4 separate regions of the Homo sapiens genome follow, and all the other regions are linked to region 1. Evidence: promoter capture Hi-C in 16 types of primary human blood cells and fetal thymus (Javierre and others, 2016). All regions are on one chromosome and are shown on one strand. Each heading gives the region's core, a stretch centred on a gene start or on the middle of the fragment in contact. The rest is flanking DNA. Distances are from core to core; before and after follow the strand shown.

The links. Contacts are between HindIII fragments. The CHiCAGO score rates a contact against its expected background, and 5 or more counts as called.
Region 2: a contact is called between a fragment that was not itself captured here and the fragment with the promoter of SP9 in region 1, in 2 of 17 cell types (total B cells and naive B cells). The highest score is 24.2, in total B cells.
Region 3: a fragment that was not itself captured here is called in contact with the fragment with the promoter of SP9 in region 1 in 1 of 17 cell types (naive B cells); the score reaches 5.7 in naive B cells.
Region 4: the fragment with the promoter of LINC01124 here is called in contact with the fragment with the promoter of SP9 in region 1 in 1 of 17 cell types (total B cells); the score reaches 6.2 in total B cells.

What each region holds. Positions count from the first base shown.
Region 1 is chr2:174,333,678-174,336,934 of GRCh38, reverse strand. It overlaps SP9 (Sp9 transcription factor), which reads right to left and starts at 1,981. Exons shown (of 2, transcript NM_001145250.2): 1 at 1,822-1,981; 2 at 1-828. The coding sequence starts at 1,842. It overlaps LOC102724194 (a long non-coding RNA gene), which reads left to right and starts at 1,959. Exons shown (of 3, transcript XR_427194.5): 1 at 1,959-3,195. RefSeq lists a silencer at 1-49. The HindIII fragment of the contact is 13,141 bases long and covers 1-3,257 here.
Region 2 is chr2:170,821,830-170,824,947 of GRCh38, reverse strand. GAD1 (glutamate decarboxylase 1) reads right to left here. Exons shown (of 17, transcript NM_000817.3): 3 at 2,799-2,861. Among named protein-coding and RNA genes, the nearest start is that of GAD1-AS1, 4.7 kb to the right of the region's middle. RefSeq lists an enhancer at 1,308-2,107. The HindIII fragment of the contact is 7,722 bases long and covers 1-3,118 here.
Region 3 is chr2:170,801,827-170,804,742 of GRCh38, reverse strand. No RefSeq gene overlaps it. Among named protein-coding and RNA genes, the nearest start is that of GAD1, 14 kb to the left of the region's middle. The HindIII fragment of the contact is 842 bases long and covers 1,034-1,875 here.
Region 4 is chr2:170,713,226-170,716,156 of GRCh38, reverse strand. It overlaps LINC01124 (long intergenic non-protein coding RNA 1124), which reads left to right and starts at 1,590. Exons shown (of 1, transcript NR_027433.1): 1 at 1,590-2,931. SP5 (Sp5 transcription factor) reads right to left here and starts at 820. Exons shown (of 2, transcript NM_001003845.3): 1 at 594-820. The coding sequence starts at 644. The region is part of intron 5 of ERICH2-DT (ERICH2 divergent transcript); the gene reads left to right. RefSeq lists enhancers at 1-446, 447-1,236 and a silencer at 1,454-1,503. The HindIII fragment of the contact is 7,273 bases long and covers 1-2,931 here.

The sequences.
Region 1 (3,257 bases), core at 732-3,231:
TATCATGGCGCTGGCGGCGGCGGCTGCCACGGCGGCGCTGGAGTCCGAATAGGAGGGCAACACCGGCTTGAAGCCGTCCTGGGCCAGCAGGTGCTGGCTGGTGGAGAGCAGGTGGGAGGCGGCGGCGGCGGAGGAGCCGAGGCCCGTGGAGCTGAAGGCGGAGTGCGTGAGCGAGCTGAAGTCGGGGTTGTAGGTGCCCAGCTGCGAGTGCAGCGAGGCCTGGGGGGCGCCCGAGTGCAGCGAGCTCTGGAGCCCCCCAGCGGGGTTCTGCACTTCCAGCCACGAGCCCGGGCTGCTGTGCACGTCCCACCACGACGACGCCGCGCCGTTGGTCACCTCGCCGGCCGCCAGCGTCGAATGGAAGCCCGACTTGTACCAGGACTCGTACGGGTGCGCCATGCCCACGCGCGGGTACAGCCCGTCGGCTGCCGTCGTGTGCACCTTGGAAATGAAGGCCGACTGGCCACCCGCCTCCTGCGGGGACACCCCGGCCGCTGCCGCCGCGGCAGCCGCCGAGTTGGAGAAGAGGCCGCCGTAGTCGCTGCTGAAGGCGGACGACGTGGGCGACGTGGAGGCCAGGCAGAAGGCGCTGTTGGCGGCGCCCGAGCCGCCCGCCAGGCCGCCCGAGCCACGGCCCCCGGTGGCCACCGCGAAGCCCGAGAGGCTGGAGCCGAGGTTGCAGCTGGACGAGGAGCGCTTCCAGGGGTGAAAGCCGCCTTTGGCGAAGGCGCTCGACTCTGGCAGCGTCGTCAGCGGGCTCGTGTTGCCGATCTTGTTGCAGGTCGCCGCCAGCATGGCCAACGGGGTCGTTCCGAAGCGCGGCTCTTCCTAGAGTGGGTGGGATGGGGGAGGGAGCAAGAAGGAGGAGGGCAAGAGGAAGTGGGGGAAGAAACAAAGTGCACCCGTGAGCAGCCTCGTCCCCTGCGGCTGCTCCCGGGGGGTCCTGGCTCCCCGCCTCGCGCCTCCTCCCCACGCGCCCGCGGAGGAGTCGCCGCACCGGGCGCGGAGCAGGGGCGATCACCCGGGCGAAGGTCCAGGCGCCGGAAAGTTGCACTTCGCTGAGGCTATAAATCAAAGATGCCTCCGTGTTCCCCGCTGCAACCCTGCCTACAACCGGACTTGGGTTGTCGCCGTAAACCGGCTCATCTCCCAGAAGACCCCAAGTCGCCCTTCGGGGTGAAGCGCGAAGGTAAACACAGAGACCAGAGACAACAAACACCGGGTGAGGGCGGAGGCGGCCGAAACAGCTGCCAGGGACGGGCGAAACTTGCAGCTCTCCCAGGGTGGCTACGACTTGACTTTTCTTTTTTAATAGAAAACGTTTGGTTTTAAAGTTTACATACACACAAAAACAGCGATTATGAAAACAATAATCCGAGGATAAGCGGCCAGAGACAGATTTCAAAGTCATGGGCGAATTGGGGAGCCGCGGAAATGTAAATGTTTATTAGCGTGACTAGATGGACTGCAAAACGATTAAGACTGTTTTCTGGAAACACCATTGTCGCATAATTGCAACAAAATCCCCAAAGCAATGCGGGGGATGGGGTATAAATCACGAGGGGAAGAAAAGAAACCTCTAGCTTTTTTTTGAAACCAAATGAAAAAGGACTTGATTAAGAAGGCCTTTTCTTGCAAAGGCATCTTTCTGGGTTCCAAAAACTTGGGGAAAAATCAGTCCCAGAAATGTGGAAAGTGCTAATAGAAGCTGAAGCTGCAGTCTAGCAGCAACAGTTTCTCCGGAGCCGCAGACCCCAGAAGCCATAACGAAAAATTACTCCGGTTAAAACAAGCAAATGCGTTGCCGCGCTTGCGACTTACCCCGAGTATAGACGTGGCCATAGCAGGTCTCTGGCTGCGCAGCGAGGCTGGGAGCGGGGCTGAGCCTGGCGGCTGCTCGGAAAAACTGCTTGGGTCCCGCGCGGCTCCCGCGTCCCCGCGCTCGTGCCGAGCGGACTCCAGGCTCCCGCCGGCTAAACTCAGCCTAAGTGCGAGGAGCACCCGCTTTGAAGTGCCGCTGGCTGCGCCTCTCGCCCAATGAGGGCGCAGGCAGAGCAGACCGGAGCTGCCCCGCAGCCAATCAGACGCTCCGAGGGGCCCGAGCCCGGGCTCCCGGCGCGTGCCAGTCAAGTCAGCTAGCTAGGGCCGCGGGGGTGGGGGGGAGTAGTGGGGGATACTTGCGGGGGGGGGGCGAGGGCGGGCTGGGGACTGAAGAAATTACAGTGCAATTAAAAATTTACACTCACGCACCAAGCCAGGTTTAAGTACCAATGAAACCGAGCCACAAGCACCCCCCCACACACAAACCACCCCGAGATGTTGCAAGTTAGGGCTGACAGTCCTACTCGACTCCCCACTTGTAGGAAAGGAGGCAGGAGGGGAGGAGACACCCAGACACAGCCCGCACCAGCAGGGCCCAAGTGGAGACGGAAATGTGAGCCCTCACTTTGTGTGTCCAGGCTTTTGCCTACAGAACACAACTTCAGCTTGTATCTATCATTCTTGCTTGTGATTTTTATCATTTTCGTGTGTCTTCTACCCAATTCCTTATTCCACTAGATTCAATTTCACTCTCACAGTTATACTGGGGAGGGGGCGCGAAGGGACAGCTCCTCCGAGAGGAGCGAAATAGGCCTCTCTGTACAGATCTACATCCACAGATTTGTTGGGAGGGCCTGGAGCCTGCTGCATCCCGCCATTTCCCCCCAGCGGTGTAAGTGACTTCCTAATTGTCGCTCTGGCCTCTGACCCGGGGGGTAATACAAGTGCCACTCACGCTAGAGGCTTCTGGTGGTAATTGAGGGCACCCTTTGTACGGTTTCGCCAGCGCTTAGATACCAGGTTAACCCAGTTGTCAAATATGACTAAACAGTGGGATGTGCTGATTATCTGCCGGGTTTTGCTGTGGGCTGGCATGGGGGTGGGAGGCATCAGCCCATACAACACGCTGCACGAAGCCGCTTATTTTCTCACTGTAACAACTTTGGAAACAGAGACCGGCGCGAGCGGCGTCCGCCCCCACCTCCACCTCCGCTGAAGCTGCAGCTTGCTCGGCTGTTTGTTTAACCCGGTGAAGATTTGCATGTCGCGTTTCATCCTGGAGTGGAGTTTTCTTGTCCCAGCTCCAACCCACTCCCATTCCAGACCACCAGGGCCTAGAGGCTCGTCCGTAGGGCAAGTGCGCTGTTTTAAGAGGTAGGCTCCCCATTAGTGCCCTGCTTTCACGGACGCGCCCGAGAAATCTCTCCAGGACTTTC
Region 2 (3,118 bases), core at 466-2,965, 3.5 Mb after region 1:
ACACACACACACACACACGAGTGTAGGCTAAATAAAACAGCTCAGGGGCTGTAGTTGGCAGCAAGAGATAAGTGATGGAAGCCCAAGGACACCCTGGGAAGTTAGCAGAGCCTGGAGCCAGAACTTAGGGATCCCTGCAACTCATCGTATTTAGGTCATGCCACCATGCCTGCAGCACTCTCCAGCTCTTGGCAAGACCATGGGTTTCTTCTAGCTGATTACTCTCCCTGGGGGATTCTGCCTCCAGAGCTAATTCTGCCTTCAGGGCTACCACTAGTGGGGCCCAGGGCCTTCCTTGCAGCTTCATTCTGTGGATTTTGGGGAAGGGCAGGGGGAGAGTGGGTGGGGGTTGAATTTTGGCAAGGCACTGAGGGTGCTTCTGAGAGTCATCCAGGGCAGTGGGTTTGGAAGTGGGAAGAGGACCATGAGTTCCTCTGCTCTCTTAATGTGAAAGGGTAAACCAACCTGGATGGTGTCAAGTCAAGAAGGGACCCTCCAGGTCCATCCCTCCAGGGATGAAGGGAGGGGTGTGTGTGTGTGTGTGTGTGTGTGTGTGTGTGTGTGTGTGTAGGCAGGCAGGGAGCTGTGGACCCAGGGCCAACACAAAAGACTGCACTCTGCCTCCACTAGATTAAAATGGAAAGCCAAAGTTGTCTCAAGGTGTGGAAAATAAATCTTGGTGTTTTGTTTTCTTTCACAATCAAACCTAATGGGAAGCCTCCTAACCTGTGGCCCCAAAAGCGGGGCATTTTAGCCCAAGGCAATTTCTCCTCAACAGACTACCATGGGTTGTGGGGAGCAGACACAGGGAGGAAACTCTCTGAGGACTGTAGCCCCCAGGAGCTCTCCCTCCTAGCTTCGGCTGACAGTGGGGGAGGGGGAGTGGAGGCCAACTCCGGCTTCCCTATTTCCGGACCCAGCGAAGCCCCACTCTTTCCCGCCTCTTTAGCCTTTCTGAACTCGTCGGGTATGTCCCCATAAGAAGCACTTAGACCTTTTATTCCCGCGGAAGTGGAGCGCCTGCAGCCAGAGGAGCAGGGGACAGCAGGGGGCAGGATGGGGGTGAATGAGGGCTGCCCCCCACCCTCAGCAGGCCAGGCGCCGCTGGTAAGGAGCCGTCGCCCAGAGCCTGCCCCTACCCTGTCCTCGGCTGCCCAGGGCTCGCTCAGTTCTGCCTGCCCGGCTGGCTGCATGACAATGACGGCTGCAGAAGCCGAGCGCTGCGGCCGCCGAAGGGACCTGGCGCGAAACGGGCCATTAAGCCCAGAATGGCGGCAGGGTGGGGGTGGAGGTGGGGGTGGGAGTGGGACGGGGCTATTTATAGAACAAAGATCCGCGGCCGCCGGCTGCCCCAGCACAGGGATGCAGCCCTGGCCTTGCCCCACGGGCGTCCTGCGCTGGGGAGAAGGCCAAACTCCCAGGCCGCCCGGCGGCAGGGCTGGGCTTTCGGTGGAAAATGGCTGGGTCTAGGAATGGAGCGCCTGTTCCTCCCTAAACGCCGAGTCCCAGGGTCTAGAGGACAGAGCCCCAGAAATGCAGGGAGGGCGCGGCGCGGCCAAGCAGGGAAGGGAGTAGTTCCCCAAAGCGGCCACTCTGCTCTGACTGCAAACTGCCACCGCCCTCGCCCCGGGACCCAGGGAGGCTGGGAAGATCAGGTGCAGAGAGCACCCAGGCGGCGGGCGGCTCTCGGCGCTCCGGGGCTAGGGCGGGCGGGCGTGTCCCGTGCCTGCTCTGCCGCTATCTCCCGCGCGCAGGAGCTGACGGATGGCTCTTTAATAAGCCGCCCGTTAATCTTCCCCCGCCTCTCCAACCTCTGCCCGGGGACATCCGTATTTTCTGGCCCGATAAGGCTAGAGAATTTTAGTCGGTGAAATGTAGCCAGGAAAGTGAGGCCTCATTGTTCAGCCAGAATCACTCAGCTGTGTCCCTTCGAACAAATCTCCCTTTTTCCTTTAAAAAAATTACATCCTTTGGGCGTTTTCATTTCAGACCCTCCTGTCTCCAGAGAGCAGTTCTTTCTCCTCTCCAGCTCCCTGATCTATTTTCTTCCTTCCCGGTTCTTTCGCCGCCTGCGGCTCCTCGTCCCTGCTCGTCCCCTTTCCCTTCCCTCCTCGCCTTCAAGGATGCGCCAGGCAAACCCTCGTGCCTCCCTCAGGCAGGCCATGGAGGGCTCCAGGCAATCCTTTTCTTTAGCCTCCGAAGCCCCAAAGAAAGAAACTTGAATCCGTTATGACATCTCAGGGCAAAACCCCTCAAGGTGGAGAGACCACTTTCAATGCGACCCGACTGCGCGGGTGGAGGTGCGAGTGAGGGGTAGGCGATGATGTAGGGGATGGGGGAGACGTGTCAGCTACAGCTTTAGGCAGATACACCGCCTTTGGTCTGCTCTCCAGCAAGCCAGATCAGTTCACCTTTTCTACGCGACCTTTGGGACGCGCAGGCAGAGTGCACGGCACCGGGTGGGAGCTGCTTGCGCGCAGGGCTAGGAAGGCGGGGTTGCCGCGCGGGGGCGCTTTCCTCCCGCTTCTGCGCCCAGGCAGGGCACCCGGCGTTCGCTCCACTGGGTGTTGGGGATTGGGGACTCCAGAGGAAAAGACCCCTGGGGACCAGGTCTGGGGCGGGCAGAGGAGGGTCAGGGCCTGTAGGGGAGCGTGGTCGCTGGCTGTCCTGGCTGTAATTACATTAGAAAATCAGACCCATGAGCCCGGATCCCCCTCCGCTTGCGTCCCAGTCTCCCAAGCCCCAAAGGTCCGCCCGCCGCGCCACCCAGCCGGGCCCCAGTGGGTCCTGTCACTTACCGCAGATCTTGAGCCCCAGTTTTCTGGTGCATCCATGGGCCACGCCGCACCAGGTATCGTACGCTAGGACGAGAGAGAGGGAGAGAGGTTCGGTTAGGGAGGTTCCGACCGCGGGGAAATGGGTGGAGGACAATGGTTTTCTTGGGGGAGGATGAGGACTTTGCCAGAGCTCTTCATTAAAAGCTACTTCCTGAAAGGAGCTAGGAGCCAAATCTGTGAGCCGACAGGCATATACTCTAAGCCCCCATCATACTCCCTTCCTGCTCCTGGCTTCAAATATGGAACGGTGTCTCTGAGAGGCGGGGCACCCGGCGCCCCTC
Region 3 (2,916 bases), core at 205-2,704, 3.5 Mb after region 1:
CTTAAATGTTTTACAAATAATACTGCACTTACCTTATGTCTTCCAATGATACTTCATCTGTTTTCTTTCCTCGTTTTCCTTTTCCTCACCTCCAATGCACTCAAATTCACTGAAATACGGCACCCCCAATTCACACTCAACTGACACAGCTTTTCCTAATATCACCAACCACCTCTTTGTTGCTATCCCATTACCCTTTTAGTTCTTATCTTACTTGTCTTCTCTGCAACTTTTTGCAAAGCAGGTTTTTACAGGCTCCTTGAAACTCTTTTTCTGGGTTTCTGTGGTGCTGCTCAATATCAGTTAGGAGGCTTTTGGCAGCAGGTAAAAGAAACCTTGATCCAACTGGCTTGAACAATAAGAAAGTTTATCTCATAACATAAACTCAGAGTGGTGGCTCCCAGGCCCGTCGACTCAGCGGCTGAGCATTAGCAGGGACCTAGGTTCTTTTTGTTCTTCCATCCACAGCATCAGCTTCTTCCTAAGATTAGCTTCTCTCGTGATCATGAGATGACTGCCAGCAGAAACTAGGGCAGCATGCTTCCTGGTTCTTAACCAGAAGAATGGAGGAACATCTCCTCCCAATCATGAAATAAAGTCCTCGATCTTTTTAGAAGAAGTAGGTCACATGTCCATCTCTGGAACAATAACAGTCACCAGAGAAATGCCAGGGACTGGTTGGCTGAGTCTCGTGGCTATGGATGTGGGGAGCGAATATCTGAACAGAGTCGGGACTGTCTTTGCTCTTTGCAAAGAAAGGGAAAAGGATAGTTGCTGAGTAGGAAACCAACAGTGCCCACTATATTTGCTTTCCCAATTTTCCTCTTGGTTGTTCCTTCTCAGTCTATTATGTGCACTTCTCTTTCATGGACTACCACTTAAATGTTGGTGATCATTATAATTCTATCCCTGGTCCTCTCCTATTTGGACTACACTCTCTCCATGGGTCCTTCATTCTGTTTATTTGACTACTATCTCTAAGTGATGACTACTAATAAAGGTATATTTCCCGCCCAAGTGTCTTTTTTAAGCTTCATACCATGAAAACTAGTTAACACTTACCCAATACTTCCTGAGTTAGGCAGAATAATGCACCCCTCTTCTCCCAAGATGTCTACATCTTAATACCCAGAAACTGCAAATATGTTAGATTACATAGCAATGGGGCATTGAGATTGCTGACGGAGTTAACCTTGCTGATTAGCTGACTTTAAGATAGGGAGACTATCTTGGATTATCCAGATGGACCCAAGGTAATCACAAGCATCTTTAAAAGCAGAAGAAAAAGTCAGGAGAGAGAATAGAGAGATGGCAGCATGACAAGGGCTTGGCCAGACATTCCTGGCTTTGAAGGTGGAAAGATGGGGCCAAGGAATATGCGTGGGGTCTGGAAGCTGGAAAAGGCAAGGAAATGGATTATCTCCTAGAGCCTCCAGAAGGAATGCAGCCTTGCTGACACCTTGCTTTTGGCCCAGTGAGACCCATTTTGGACTTAGAACCTCCAGAACTATAAGATCATAAAGTTGTGTTGTTTTAAGCCACGAAGTTTGTGGTAACTTTTTATAGCAGCAATAGGAAACTAATACATTTCCCATAGTCAACTTGTGCAAGTGAACCTCCATCTTCTTCAACAAAGCTGCTTTCCTGTGTTCCTGTCTTTAGGGGCTGGCATCACCATATACCTTGTCCTCCCACTAAGAGTCATTCTTGACCTCTACCTCTTTACCACATTTACTTTATCCCCAATTCCTGCCAATTCTTTCTACCTCTAGAGTAACCCCTCCATTCCATTACATCTCCCTGCTACTGTCTCTTTTCAGGTTACAATTTTGAACTGCTAGAGTCTGTATTCAACTCTAGTCTGTTCTCTAAGCTTTCAAATTTTATTTTTCATCGAGATCCACAGGAAGAAATACATTTCACTTCAAGGTCTAGGGAATACACACTCCTGAAACAAAAGTTTCATAAAACAATGCTTGCCATACTCTTTTGCAGTATATGCTGATAGTTTCTATTCTATGTATTTAACTTTGTAAAACCCCCAGGTATTTGTGATTTACTGCAATGATTTCATAACTGACCAATGGATCGTAATGTGTAGTTTAAGAAGACATCTTTTTTACCTACCAGAATGCTCTTTCTAAAATACAATTATTTTCCTTAAAAGCATTCAATGCCTCCATTACTCTAAGGATAAAGTTCAAACTCTAACATGGCTTCTAAGACCCCCCATCACCCAGTTCTTTTATCACTGTAGCTTCGTCTTTCTCCACTCTAAATGGTTCATTTTATAATCCAACCTTACCTGCTTAACTTTCTGATATCAGATTGTGTCTCTGCGCCTTTGCAAGTTGTGTTACTCTGCTCAGACTGTCTTCTAGACACCCTTTTCTTACAGCTAATTCCCACTTCCTCTACCTTCTTAGCTTAGACTTCACTTCTCTCTAAATGCTTTTCCTGGATGCCTAGACTGTCTCTCCTGCCCTCCCACATTCTCCCTTAGTGCCCAGGACCCACACAATGGCAGTGTTTATCTCCCTGTATTTAACAACAATGCTGTTGAAGAGCAGAGACTGGGTTTTGTTCCCTCCAGAATACCTAGAAGGCCTTCAGTAAATACTTATTGAGGCCGGGTGTGGTGGCTCATGCCTATAATCCCAGCACTTTGGGAGGCCAAGACGAGCAAATCACCTGAAGTCAGGAGTTCGAGACCAGCCTGGTCAACATGGCGAAACCCCTGTCTCTACTAAAAATACAAAAATTAGCCGGGTGTGGTGGCGGGCACCTGTAGTCCCAGCTACTCGGGAGGCTGAGACAGGAGAATCATTTGAACTCGGGAGGTGGAGGTTGCAGTGAGCCAAGATCGCACCATTGCACTCCAGCCTGGGCAACAAGAGTGAAACTCCGTCTCAAAAC
Region 4 (2,931 bases), core at 341-2,840, 3.6 Mb after region 1:
CCCTCCTCCGTCCCGGCCGTCCCTCCCCCGCCACCGCACCCCACGCACGCACCCACCGGCCGAGGGAAACTTTTGGTGCCTGCGCTACCTGAACGTGGGGCCCGCGAGCGCTTCTTGCTAAACTACTTGGTGCACTGAGACGCCATCCAGCCTTAGAGGAAGCAGGCGCGAAGTGGGAGGGGGAGGCATCCGACGGGCCCCTCCCGGCTCCGTGGTCAGTAAGAGTCGGGAAACACCCACAACCCCGCCGGCCGGCCGCTCTCCCTCCCATCTTTTAAGCTCTCTTGTCCTCACTGCCTTCGCGCTCCTCCCTGGCCCGCCCCAGGCTGAAATCAGCAGGAGGGCCCAGCAGGGTGAGCTCCGGTCCTGTTCTCGGCCAGCCGGGCACCTCCGAACAATCCCGGATCCACGCGTCCCTCCAGCAAAGGCCACACCGGATTAGGTGTGAAGTTGGCGTGGGCACCCCTAGGCCTGGCTCCAGCTGCACCCATCGGCGGGGTTCCCTTTGAGGTTCAAGGTGCACGGAGTACCAGGAGAGATCCGGACACGGCCCTTTCCACCTTTCTCCCGCCCCCTCCGGGCTCGGCCCTGACCTGGAGAAAGGCCTGCAGCGAGTCGTTCCGGAGGACGGCCACCGCGGCCATGGCTACGGCTTGCAGGCCCCTGGCTGCGGAGCGGGACGCCGCCGCCGAGGCATGGACACCCGAAGGCGAGGACGAAGGGCCGCCCAGCCTGCCTCCCTGGCGCCTGCTCTGAGCGCCGGGGCCCTCCCCGCCCTTGCCCCTCGCCGCGCCCCGCTCGCTCGCCCCGCGCGCGGTCTGAGCGCTTCAGGATCACCTCCAAGAATTTGATAAGGACTTTGCTGGGCCGCCAGCCAGTCAGAGGGAAGATTTATGGCTTTGAAGTTTGCCGCTACCCAATCATCAAAGAATAGCGGCTCTTTCAGAAGCGAAAGCAAATCCTTTGAATCCACAAAGCTCCTATGGTGTGTTTGTTGGTCTGGATAAAAGAACTGATTATTAGGGGGGATGGGAAGGGAGGAGATAAAGGCGGGACAATTAATGAAGTAATCACTATGTGGGAAATGTATATACACAAATAATTGGATTTTCCTGATCAAAGGGGGCCTTGCCGCCTGGAGACCCGCGCTTGGGTTGCTCGAGACACTCTTCCCGCCCCCCCCAACATACACACACACACACACACACACACTTGCAATTAAAGATTTGCACCGACGCAGCGCCCAAAGTGACAAAGTGTCTTTGTTATCTCTGGAAAAATCTGCCTTCGGCTTCCAGGCGCCGGACTTTGAGACGGCAAAGAGTGTAACTCTCCCCTGTATTTACTTGCACACCCTGCACCCTCGCCGCACACGCACCCGCCCGCGCACACAGCGGACCCAAGCGAGATCCCCGGTGGGGCGTGGGACCGACAGCGCCCGGCCCGCCGCGTGTCCCCCGCCCGCCGCGGTGGGGCCGAGGGCAGGGCTGTGACCTGGGGCGGGGCCGGGCGGCCGCCCAGCGCGGCGTTGGGTGGCGCGCACGCTCCAGGGCCGCCCGCCTGACGAGCGACCGGGGCTCTCCTGTGACGTTCCTGCTGGCGACCTGGAAGTTTTCCTCAGGCCACAACTTTTGCAGAGTGGACCTGGGAAAAACACCCGCGCCGCGCATACCCTCAAAGCTGAGCTCGGCAGGACACCCAAGGCGACCCGTCATGCCCACCCGAGGGGAAGAAGCTGTGCTGTCCCGCCCCCTTCTCCCCAGGCCACCCAGGAGGCCCGGGCTGGGCTGTGGGGGGCCGAAAGCCCCAGCGCTGCTGGTGATTTCTCGCCCGGAGCCCCGCCAAGCCAGCGCGCCCTCTCGCAAGCCTGGCAGACCAGGAGCTACTGGAAAAAAGGCGCGGTCGAGGAAGCCTGGTTGTTGTGGTCCCACAAACCACAAATCATACGAGAGAGGATCCCGAAGGCGGGAGAAAAGTCAGTACAGACTTGTTCCTGCCACCTTTGGAAAGAAAAAGTTCCTCACCAGGCGCGGGGCGTGCTTTGCTCTGGGCAGGGTCGCGCTTGCAGGGGCTTGGGTGACCCCCATCCCTCCCTGGCGGCTCACCTCCTGCCGAGGAGGGCCACCTGCCTCCTCCTGGCCCAGGGCGCAGGGCGCGTCCTGCCCCGGCACTGCGGACGCGGGGATCGCCTCTCCCGGGCGCGCGGGCGGGGAAGGAGGAAGAGGCGGGCGGGGAACCGCGGGGTGCTCACCGCCCTGGGGCATTAGGGGTGCGGAACCGCGTTGGAGGCCTCGCGGCCCCGGCTCGCGAGAGCGCACTGCGGAGTGGCCGCCGGAGCTCGGCCTACTCCTCTCCCCCACCCACCTCCCGTCGGACACAGTCTCCACTCTCCAGGCCGCCGGCCGTGGGGGAGCCCCTAATCAGTTCGCGCCCGGCCTCTCTGCCCGTCTTCCTCACGGGAACCGCACTGCGACCGGGACGGACGGGGTGACCTATCTCCCGATGCAGCGTCAGAGGTTAGCCTAACTACAACGGACTCGGAATCTGGACTGTATAAGGATGCCCTCCGCACTTCCATCAGGGGTCGGGGATGCGATGCCTCCGGGCCCACCTTCTCCCACGCCCAGGGCGCGCCTGCGGAATGAGAATATCGTACTCAAGACGGGTGGGCTGCTTGCGACCCAAATACAATGGGTCCCTCGCACATCCTGCACTCGCACGCCCCCTTCTCCCCCAACGAGTTGTCCCCTCTAAAACGCGAGCGGCGACCACACAACTTGGCCGACCCGATCTGGCTTCTGAAGATGAGGTCGGCTGCTCTGGGAGCGGAGAAGGGGAGAGAGCTTAGTGGTTTCATCCGAGGCCTGGCCAACCTGCTCCTTCCCACGCTCCCGTCCAGGATTTGAGTCTTGGAGAAGCGTGAGACTCGAG